Regions from separate parts of the Homo sapiens genome. Here regions 2 and 3 are each linked to region 1. Evidence: promoter capture Hi-C in 16 types of primary human blood cells and fetal thymus (Javierre and others, 2016). All regions are on one chromosome and are shown on one strand. The core of a region is centred on a gene start or on the middle of the fragment in contact, and the rest is flanking DNA. Distances in the headings are between cores, read along the strand shown. Region 1 holds the start of NKX2-5 (NK2 homeobox 5). Region 2 holds the start of SH3PXD2B (SH3 and PX domains 2B). Region 3 holds the start of NEURL1B (neuralized E3 ubiquitin protein ligase 1B).

Region 1 (3,341 bases), core at 390-2,889:
GGTGAACTGAATTAGGGCTAGTTTGGTTTGAGAAGTTAAATGAACAGAGGCCGAGGCCTCACTGCTAGGGACGGTCTTATCTCAAAATTAAGGAATCAAGAAACAGAAGGCCAGGGAGTGTTGGTTTGGTGATCGGAGGCTCCAGCCTGGCCGCAGCAGGGTTTGCGCAGTGTCCAAGAAGCTGCGGGTGGGCAGGCGGCCTCGGAACCTGCCTTGCTGGCTTCCTCGAATTGGTAGCGATCAGTTCTAGCCGCCGTGCCCGCCCGAATTTGTTCCCAGGCCTCTGCTCCTCAACAAACCTATGAATTCTCTCCCGGCTGGCAGCGGCCCTTCGCCCAGCGCTTCGCCCAGCGCCTGCGGCCTCCCGGGAATCGCCCGGGCTCCTGCCTTGGGCTGGGGGGTCTCCCAGAAGGCCCCTTTCTGCAGCGGGGCCGGCCTCCCTCCCCGATCCTGGGATGGCCTGCGGGATGATCCCGCACTCATCTCGTCCACTCCCTTGTGCCCGCGGTAGCGCAGCATTTCCTAACTTTTCCACGAGGGAACCTCTCCGCCCTGGCCGCGCCGGCAAGTTGTGCTGAAAAAATAAAGTGAAGTCAGATTCCTGAGGGTCCGCAGTATCCCATTTTAAAATCAAGGCCCTCGATCCCAGACTCCACTTTCCTGGCGCAAAGAAAGAAAGGCACCAGAAACCCGGGTCGTGGGTGGGCTGCAGAAAGAAGGTCCAGGACCCTCCTCCGATTGTACGCAAAAGCTGTCTGGTGAGCAACATTTCAATTTCTGTTTAGCGGTTCTCATCAGATCTTTAAAAAGATTCGTAAATCCAAAGGAGATTTAAAAACAGAGATTATCTGCTTGTCTCTCTGTTCTGTCTACCATAAACCGATTTCTCAACTTCCTACCAGACCCAGGAGCAGAGCCGAAGCCGCCCGGGGCTTTGTTAGGCCGGGGGGAAACGTTTTTTGGTCTCTTGCTTCTGATCCTTTCAATCCGGCATTTCCTCTGAACCTCCGATTGGACGCGGGGCGCGGGAGCCTGGCGACAACACCAGGCATCTTACATTCTGAACCCCCCGCCGCAGCCCAGCCCTCGGCCCAAGGGCGCGTGTCTCCTCCTCCTGGCCCTGAGTTTCTTGGGGACGAAAGCGACCCAGGAGGGGAGAAGGGGGCCTGTGTTTCCTCCTCACCTTTCTTTTCGGCTCTAGGGTCCTTGGCTGGGTCGGGGTCGCTGTAGGCACGTGGATAGAAGGCGGGGGCGGCGGGAAAGGCAGACGCACACTTGGCCGGTGAAGGCGCGCGGCCCAGCTCTGCGCGCAGCTCTGGGAGGCCCGGCGCAGCCGCCTCGGGCCCAGCGTAGGCCTCTGGCTTGAAGGCGGCCAGCATGCAGGAGGAGGGCGCCAGGGTCGCCTCCAGGCGGGCAGAGAGCTCTCCGGCGGCAGCCAGGCTGCGCTGCTGCTGTTCCAGGTTTAGGATGTCTTTGACTGAGAAGGGCGTGGGCGTGAGAGCAGGGCTGGGGAACATGGTGGCAGCGCCAGTCTCACAGCGCCAGGTGGGCGGCAGAAAGCGGCGCTGCCCACGGCCCCTGGCAGCTTCCCTGCATGGTGCCGCCGCCCGCCCGCGCACCCGTCGGCCAGCTCTGGATGTGTCCGGGCAGCAGGTAGCGCTGAGCACAAGGGGCAGGAGAGGCGGGACCAGGCCAGAGGAGGGGGACTCAGCCTGCCATTGGGCCAGGGGCCTCGATGACAGGAGCGATGAGCAGTTTCGTGTCACCTAATATAGTCATACGGCAAAAAAAAAAAAAAAAAAAAAAAAAAAAAAAAAAAAAAAAAGCCCTGCCCAGCTTTTTTAAAGGGGCCACGACGCATTTGGAAGGGTCTCCTTTTGCTCCTGCAGCCTGCGTTTGCTCCCTAATGTGAGCCTGAAAAGCCTACCAGAGGCATGCAGAGTCAGGCCTCTGGGCAGGGCTGGATGGGTGTGGGTTTGAAGAAATATTCCTCAGCACCCAAACCAGCATGGGAGAGAGAAGGATGGGGTGGGAAGCGGTGGGGAGGAGAGTGATTTGAGGAAGGCTTTATTACTGAAGGTGGTGGGATGAGGGAGAGTCTGAATAGGAAGAGAAGCCTGGAGGACAGGGCTGGCTTTGGGGATAGCAGCAGGGCGAGATTCTGGACAATTCGGGGGTTTGGTTTGGCTTGGCCTACAGGGTCAGTCATGCCGCAGGCTCTGGGTGCTTCTGGGCGAGTCAACGAAAGTAAGGGCAAGGTGAGTGATGGCCAGGTGGGGTAGGAGTTGCTGCCTCCTACAGTAGTGTTATGCACAGCACAACTCCAGGGGGCATCAGTCACTGCCAGTACCCTCCCAGGGAAATGCCTCTCCCCTTAATAATGAAATAAATCAGGAATCCCAGCTGGTAAGCTCAGCTTCCCAGGAGACACCTGTCTTGTGGAGTGCCCCAGCTACCAGCCACCTTGTTTCCCCTGTTTGGAGGCCATCGATCCCACCTCCCTCCTTCCCGTGCCCTCCCTGCCTGGCAGCAAGGCCCTCAGGCTTCTGCCAACCTCGAGGTTTCAGGGTCCTAGCCCAGGTTTAGCTCTCAGGGAGGCGGGGCTCCTCTGAGCCCAGCTAGGCCAGGATTTCTCTGAGGCCTCTGGGCCGGACTTCCAGTGGGGCACCCCTGCGGCTCGGTCAGGCGCGTGGGGGAAGGGCAGGGCAAGTGGGGTGATCATGATCATTTTTAGCCCAGGGTCAGTAGAGTAGGGCACAGAAGTCAGACAAATCTGCCAGAGTTTCAGGAGCGCCAGCTACATGGCCAGATCCTGCCCGGGTGGCCTCATTTCTCTGGGTCCCCGCACTCCTTGGGAGGTCTGATGAAAGCTTGGGGTCTTCTCCATTCCCCAGAACACTGCAGAGAGGAGTTTTATTTTGCTTACAATTCAGGAGTCCGGGCAGGCAGAGCGGGCCCAGGTTAAGGACGCCTTCTAGAGCTGGGGATGACAGGATTTGTCAGTGGAAAAGCGTTGGCTTCTCACGGCCCTAGCTGGTACAGGGAACCGCGGGCGGGAAGCTGGGCGGGACGCGTGGACTTGCTGAGAATGGGGATGTGGAGGGCTTGGCTCTTTGCGGAGTGCGGGTTGGCAAGAGGCGCTTGGAGTAGAATAAAGGCGGCGCAGGGCCAAAAACTACCTAAAGACACAGCTCCCGCAGGCGCGCCCAAGGTGCGGAGGAAACGCTCCATGTATGGGGACAAAATAGTGTCTGTCCAGAACGTACATCTTGGGTGCTCAAACCCGACAGTGTGCCGTCTGAGACGCCGACGCAAGTGAAGTCAAGCATTGGCCTGATGTT
Region 2 (3,341 bases), core at 631-3,130, 780 kb before region 1:
TGGCCGGGCCTCGGTGGCAGTATCTATTCTCGTTTTTGCCAGCTCACAGACCTGGTGGGAGGTGGCATGGAGAATTCCAGACTTCCTCCAGTTGCCATGTTGGTGAAAACTGTCTTCATGCCAAAGAGGCAAACTCACTTACACGCTAACAGGCTCAAACAAGAAACTAAGATTTGGCAGCATTTGAAAACAGTTAACAAAAAATAAAAAAAGGAAGGAAAAAAAAAAGACAATTTAGCTCAGCTCTGGAATCAAGGGAAACTTCACTCTATATAAAGATGCCACAGGTCCAGGAAATAGCTTCCCACCGCCTGGCTAAGGGCTGAATAACTGGCTGCCCAGCCAATAACAATACAGACTCACACAGCACACCCTTTCTTGTGGAGAGCGCGGAGTGGGTTCCCGGCTATCTCCTTTCAGAATTTCACAGGCTATTCACGGAAGGCATGCAGATCTACTTTGTAAGAATTAGTTCTTAAAAAAAAAAGATCTGAAGACGACTTCCAGGGAGGCCAAGGAGCTTAATTTAGCCAGCCAACGCCCTTTTCTATTCATTGTTCTATACTTCTTTGTTAGGATTTTTTCCCTCCCTCTTACTCTTTTTCCCTTCCTGGTTAACTTCTCTGCAGCCAGGCTCCGCCACTGCCCACTTCTCACCGCCAGAGACACTATAGCCCCCTTCCCTGCTGTAATGAGGCCCTCCCCAAGGCCTCATGTGGGCCCATCACCCCACATCCCCTTTATCTCCACCTAGAACCTGCGAGGTGGTCCCAGGGCCTCCTGAATCTGCAGACGTGTCCCCTAGGTTGCTGCGGAAGCCACTTTCCACCTGCAGGTCACCGTCAGCCCCAGGCACCCCTGCTGGAGGGAGGGAAGCCCGAATGCAGCTCTATGTTCCAGGACCTGCAACCTCTGAGCCTCAGCCTTCCTATCTGCAAAACGACGCTACTGTCCCATTTTCTCAAGTCCTTGCCAGCTCCAAACAAGATTCCCATGTTCCAGAGGGAGATGCCAGGAGAAAACTTTCGTACATTTTAAAACAGAAGTTACTGGAGAGAGGGGGCAGGGGATGTTTTTAACCCTTTAAAGGCGTAGCCACTCAAATGATCCATTCCCAGAGATCTCCTCCATCGCCCAGGCCGGCTCTTGCCAAAGAACGGAGTCAAATTCGGCGAACCCTAGAGGGGCTACCTGTGGCTGGGGACTGCGGGTCTGCGCGCCTCTGGACAAGGAGGGGCAAGGCGGGCGGCCTGAGAACAGGCACTTCTGTCTCTCCCGCTTTCTGTCTCAGACCCCTCACCGGCTGGAGCCAGACTTTTCCACAGATGAGCAGGACGGGAGTTGGGGGGACACGGAGAAGACAGAAAGGGGTAGAGGAGCCGCAGGGAGGCGAGTAGGGGGGCGAGGCGGGAGGAAGGGATGGAGGGGGAGAACGAGGCAAAAGCGGGGAGGGGAGGGGAGGGAGGGAGGAGGAGTCGGGAGGGACCCGGGCAGCGCCGCCGCAGAGCCGAGGGGAGAGCAGGGGAGGAGGGGACGGGAAGCGCTGGAGGCAGAAGTTTTCCAAGCCGGGGGCCCTCGGTCGCCCCCGACGGGGCGCGGGCTCAAGGGGGCGTGGGGGCCGCGCCGCACTCACATAATGCTTGTTGGGCACCCGCCGCTTCTGCACGTCTAGCACCTTCACCTCCACGATGCTGCGCCGCGGCGGCATGGCCGCTCCTCCGCCCGCAGCGGGCCGAGCGCGGGTGCGGGTGGCGCGGGGTGCAGGGAGCGCTGGGGGCGCGCCGCCGCGGGCAGGGAACCTGGAGCTGAGCGCAATCGCAGCCGGGGCCGAGCACGAGCCGCCGCCGCCACCGCCGCCGCCCTTCGCTCGGCGCGCACTCCAGCCGGGCCCAGCCGCCGCCGCCCGCCCCCGGCCCGCCCCCCGCACCGCCCCCCGCACCGCCCCCCGCACCGCCCCCCGCGCCGCCGGCCCGCCCCCCTTAAAGGGCCCGGCCCCGACCCCCGCCCACCGCGCGCGAACCCCGCCGGCCACGTCCGGCCCCCGCCCGGCCTTTGTCCCGGTGCTGAGCCGCCGCGCCGGGGGAGGGGACTGGACTGACCCCGTCGCCCGTTCACTGATTGACGTATCGATTCATTCCAGCACTCTCGCTCCGGCAGCCGCCATCCACCGCCAGTTTGGAGAGCCGGACACCCGGGTTCGAATCCCGGCTTTGCCGCTTTTCCACTCTGTGCCCTCGGCAAGTTGCTTAACCTCTCTGGGTTGGGTCTCTTCGTCTATAATATGAGCCTAGTAGTACAAGCACCATGTTTGTCTTTTTGTGTCTGGCTTATTTCACTCGGCATAATGTCCTCAAGGCTCATCCATGTTGTAGCACGTGTCAGTAGTACCGCCTGCCTGCCGGTGCTGCGCCCGGGATTAAGTGCATGTGAAGCCATTCCGCAGTGCAGTCCATGGTATGAGTGCTGGCGTTCCTAAAGCCACCCCAAGCCCTGGTGATTCAGGAGGAGCAAGAGACCCGTGACCAGGTTCCCCCAGCCTCAGTCTGGGACATGGGGAGTGAGGGAGAGAAAAACTGCAACAAATGCGCATACGTGCAATGTAATTGCCATGGAAGCAACAAAAGGGGATAAAAGGGTGGTGACTATGTGTGAGGGGCAGCTGGGTGCTTGTTAGCAAGGCCATCGATTTCCAGTTGCGGAGCACTTAACTGCTCGCTGGGCCCCGTGGCCCCTGCTTTTCACAAATGCTGTCTTTGCATCCTCAGGCAGACTCTAGGAGGAAAAGGTGTTTTTACAGAGGACGGCCTCCAGACATTTGGACATTTCCAATGAGGCCTGAGGACCCTCTGACTTGGGAACTGTACTTCAGAAGAATGTGCCTTACAGGAATTACATCAGTGAAGGTCCAGAGTCAGGGAGCCGGTGGATGGAGCCCGTCACTGCCTGGCTCTAGGTGGATCTCACACGTTGAAGCTGCCGTGGCTGGGGCAGCTCCTCGTTTCTTCATCTAGTGCCTCCTAGCACTGGCTGGGCACTGAGTCACTTTCAGGAGATGTTGGCTGAATGAATGGATAAATGAATATATAATGCATGGATGGGAGGTTTAGGCTCCTGGCCAGTGTTTTCACAGCCAGTAAGTGGGGGCTCTTTTCAACAAACCGTACGACTCTTCTCCATGCCACGACAGAGCTACTTCCCACCCCGGTCCAGGATCAGCCTTTGGAAAAGGGTGGGCTTATCCAGGGTAGGACGGCTCTCAGCCTCGGCCAGGCCACGTGGATGATTTGGGCTGATTCACTTTGGATCCGCCCCTCCATTTGCTCCTCTGACTTCCTTGCCAG
Region 3 (3,341 bases), core at 554-3,053, 590 kb before region 1:
TCCATATGCAACCCAATGTCACATAGATTAAAGGAGGATCAGCCAGGTGAGGTGGCTTAGGCCTGTAATCCCAGCACTTTGGGAGGCTGAGGTGGGGGAACCGCTTGAGGTCAGAAGTTTGAGACCAGCCTGGCCAACATGATGAAATCCCATCTCTACTAAAAATACAAAAATTAGCGGGGCGTGGTAGTGGGTGCCTGTAATCCCAGCTACTCAAGAGGCTGAGGCAGGAGAATTGCTTGAACTTGGTAGGCAGAGGTTGCAGTGAGCCAAGATTGTGCCATTCCACTCCAGCCTGGGTGACAGAGTGAGACTCTGTCTCAAAAAAAAAAAGAAAAAAAAAAAGGATCACGCTAACGGACCTTTCTCAAACAGAACTTTGGGGTTAAAAATTAAGTCACTGGGCGAGCACCTGTAATATGAGAAATTAGTAACTCAAATGCAAGGCAATCTTATGTTCAGACATATGACGTCAGGGGGGAGTGGGGAATCAAGGTTTCCCGGAAGTGGAAGCTTGGAGCTGGCCTTAAAGACCCTAGAACCCTCTGGGATGGGTCATGTACTGTAAGCAGAAGGCACCGGAGATGCAGAAGGCTGTCTCCTGAATACCCCGCTTTTATTCGCATAGCTTCAGGCTAGCTTTGCCCTGTACCATTGGAAGATCTTGGGCACCTCTCTTCCACTCTCAGAGCCTCAATTTCCCTATCTGTGAAATGGAAGTAATAATACATATTTCATAAAGTCTCAAGGGATACAAGAGCATGAAAAATAGAATTGAAAAAAACAGCTCATTTGGAATCGGGTCTTCTTGGGGAAGTCATTGCACTTCCTGGGCCTCAGCGTTCCAGCCTGTGAAATGGAGCTCGAGAAGGGCACAGCTGCACTTCCCACTGAGTGTGGTCCAGGTGCCTGAATGAGGAATGCCTGTTACTGCCTCTGCCAGGAACACTCTACCTATCTCTTCTCATGGCCGACGCCTTCTAGTCCATCAGATGGAGCTTATGTGCCCCCACCCCAGATTCTCCCTATGCCCCCAAACAATGTCATCTCCTCACTCTACTGGGATCTGTTTTATTTTCTTCCTGGCTTTGATTATTATATAATGTGATCGTAATTGCTTGTTATTTCTATCTTCAGCATGCCATCTCCAGGGCAGTGGGGACCTTGTCTGTATCTACCCGGCCCAGCACAGTGCCTGGTGCATAGACTGTGCTCAATAAATATTTTAGTGAATGAGCGAATAAATTAATGAATGTGGGTTCCCTCTTCCCAATCTTTGGACACTGGGTTTCTTCTATTCCTCGGTACCTGGCCTAGGGGATAGAAAAGACTCCACCCAAACCCGGGAACCCTGGGTGTACTGTCTCCAAGCCCTTTACATGGTCCCAGGGGCCCGTCTGCCTCTGTGTAAGTTCCCCCGGGGCCGAAGCACTCTCCAAAGAGGTCTGCCGGGGCTAGGACTCGGCCGGCTGGGGCCCCGCGCCTGGAAGAGGGCCTGGCACACAGTGGGCCTTCTCAAAGTGTTAGAACAAATGGGTGACAGGCCAGCAGACTGCCGATCCTGGCACCCGAGGGCACCCAGCTGCCCTGCGCGCCTTCCCGGCCCGGGCGCGGGAGCGGCGAGGGCGGGAGGCTTGGCTGTGCTTCTCCCGCCGCCTGGTGCAAACTTTCAAAAGATGCGGCGGCCGCGGCCCCGCCCCTGCACTGTTGGAGGCGGTGGGAGGCGGGGGCGGAGCCGGCGGGCCCGGGCCGGTGGCTCCGCCTCCTCCTCCCGCAGGCGCCGCCGCCGCCTCCCTCCCGGCTCCCGCCCCAGCTGCCGCCCGCCGGCTCGCCCGTGCAGCTGCGATGCCCCGGAGCGTCGACCCCGGTCCTGGTCCCTGGCCCGCCGCGTAATTAGCCTCCGCGCGCCCAGAGCGCGCCGCCGCCAACGCCGCGCCCGACGCAGCGATGGGCAACACGGTGCACCGGACCCTGCCAGGTACGCCGGGGAGCCCTGCCCGGGAGGCGGGCGCCGGGCTTCTCTCCTCCGGGGGACCCGCTGGGTGACTCTGGAGAGCTACCCCACGGCCCTTGGAGCCCTCGGCTCGCAGCGGGCTGGAGTCTCCGGTACCTCCCGGACCTCAGCTCGGCGCGCGCCCCGCGGCTGGGCTTTGCGCCCCGGGAGGGCGGGTACCGCGTCCTGGTTACCTTGGGGACCCCAGTCCTCATTCTCCCGGCTTTGGCCAGATGCGCAAAAAGGGCCGCTGGGGCGATGCCGCGCGCCCCCTCGCCTTTGTTCCAGCCCGAGGGCGCTGATGAGCAAACTCAAGGCGACCTGGGTGGGGGTGACTGGAGCCGGGCTCGCCAGGGCTTCCGACGGTCAGAAGCCACCCGTGGTGCCAAGACTGCAGCTGCCGAGAGTGAGGGGTGCTCTCAGGGGCACCCCAGTTTCCAGCCTCCCAGCGCCCCCGCGGCACATGCTGCCGTGCTTTGGCCACGTTCCCACGCGCACCCCGGTTGCGCCCCCCTCTGGTGTCCGCTCCACTGGGGACTCCTTCGCCCCCTCGGAGTCGCTGCTGCAGATCGCATCGCCCCCTAGTTAAAATCGCCCCAGAATTTCTGGGACCGGAGTGAGGGGATCCGGAGCAGGTTAACGGGGTAGGAGGAGGCCTTACTGGAAAATACATGGTAATTGTGGGAACAGATCAGCGGTCCCGCGCCCGCGCGTGCCCGTGGAGGTTCAGTGCCCAGCACTTTGCATACCCCAGCTCGGTATGCAAAGAAGCTTCGCGATAAAGATGTGTATCCCAGTTTTACAAATAAAAAAATTGAGTGTCAGAAGAGGTGAAATGACTCACCCAAGGTCACACAGCTAGTAGTGGGAGAATCTGGAGTGGGACCTGTGTCTCTCTGCCCTCCCTCCCCTCACACGCCCAAGTATTTAGAAGTATTTTGTCTTAAGGCTGGGCCTTTGTAGCATCCTTTGGGCAAAAGGTGAGAGGAGTGTGTGTGTGTCTAAAGCACAAAGGCTCGGCTCAATGGGGAAGCAAGTCAGCTGTGAGGTTAATTTAGTGTGAGGTTCTGGAAGAGGGACATATCACCCCATCTCTGCTATAACACTCCCATATAGCTCTCCCTTCTAGGCATTACATGCTCTTAAAGAATAATTTCCCCTGGAGCGGGTTGAAGTGGACAGTGCTGAGCCCAGGATTCCCAGGGTCAGCTTATGGAAGAGGAGCCAACTCCTACTTTACAAGCCTCTGAGCAACTGCACTCAAACGTTCAAATTCCCAGAGAGCTGTAATCATCAGCAGAGTCACCAGCTAGTCAGTGGCAGAGGTGGGATTAGAACCCAGGTCTGC

Evidence for each region. The method cuts DNA at HindIII sites, captures the fragments that hold promoters and counts their contacts. A CHiCAGO score of 5 or more calls a contact.
Region 2: the fragment with the promoter of SH3PXD2B here is called in contact with the fragment with the promoter of NKX2-5 in region 1 in 2 of 17 cell types (erythroblasts and neutrophils); the score reaches 5.5 in erythroblasts.
Region 3: the fragment with the promoter of NEURL1B here is called in contact with the fragment with the promoter of NKX2-5 in region 1 in 2 of 17 cell types (neutrophils and endothelial precursors); the score reaches 6.1 in neutrophils.

What each region holds. Positions count from the first base shown.
Region 1 is chr5:173,233,567-173,236,907 of GRCh38, forward strand. NKX2-5 (NK2 homeobox 5) reads right to left here and starts at 1,640. Exons shown (of 2, transcript NM_004387.4): 1 at 1,184-1,640. The coding sequence starts at 1,517. RefSeq lists an enhancer at 1-319. The HindIII fragment of the contact is 9,083 bases long and covers 1-2,868 here.
Region 2 is chr5:172,452,645-172,455,985 of GRCh38, forward strand. SH3PXD2B (SH3 and PX domains 2B) reads right to left here and starts at 1,881. Exons shown (of 13, transcript NM_001017995.3): 1 at 1,634-1,881. The coding sequence starts at 1,708. RefSeq lists an enhancer at 847-1,368. The HindIII fragment of the contact is 9,231 bases long and covers 1-3,341 here.
Region 3 is chr5:172,639,460-172,642,800 of GRCh38, forward strand. It overlaps NEURL1B (neuralized E3 ubiquitin protein ligase 1B), which reads left to right and starts at 1,804. Exons shown (of 5, transcript NM_001142651.3): 1 at 1,804-1,978. The coding sequence starts at 1,948. RefSeq lists a silencer at 1,566-1,855. The HindIII fragment of the contact is 2,251 bases long and covers 512-2,762 here.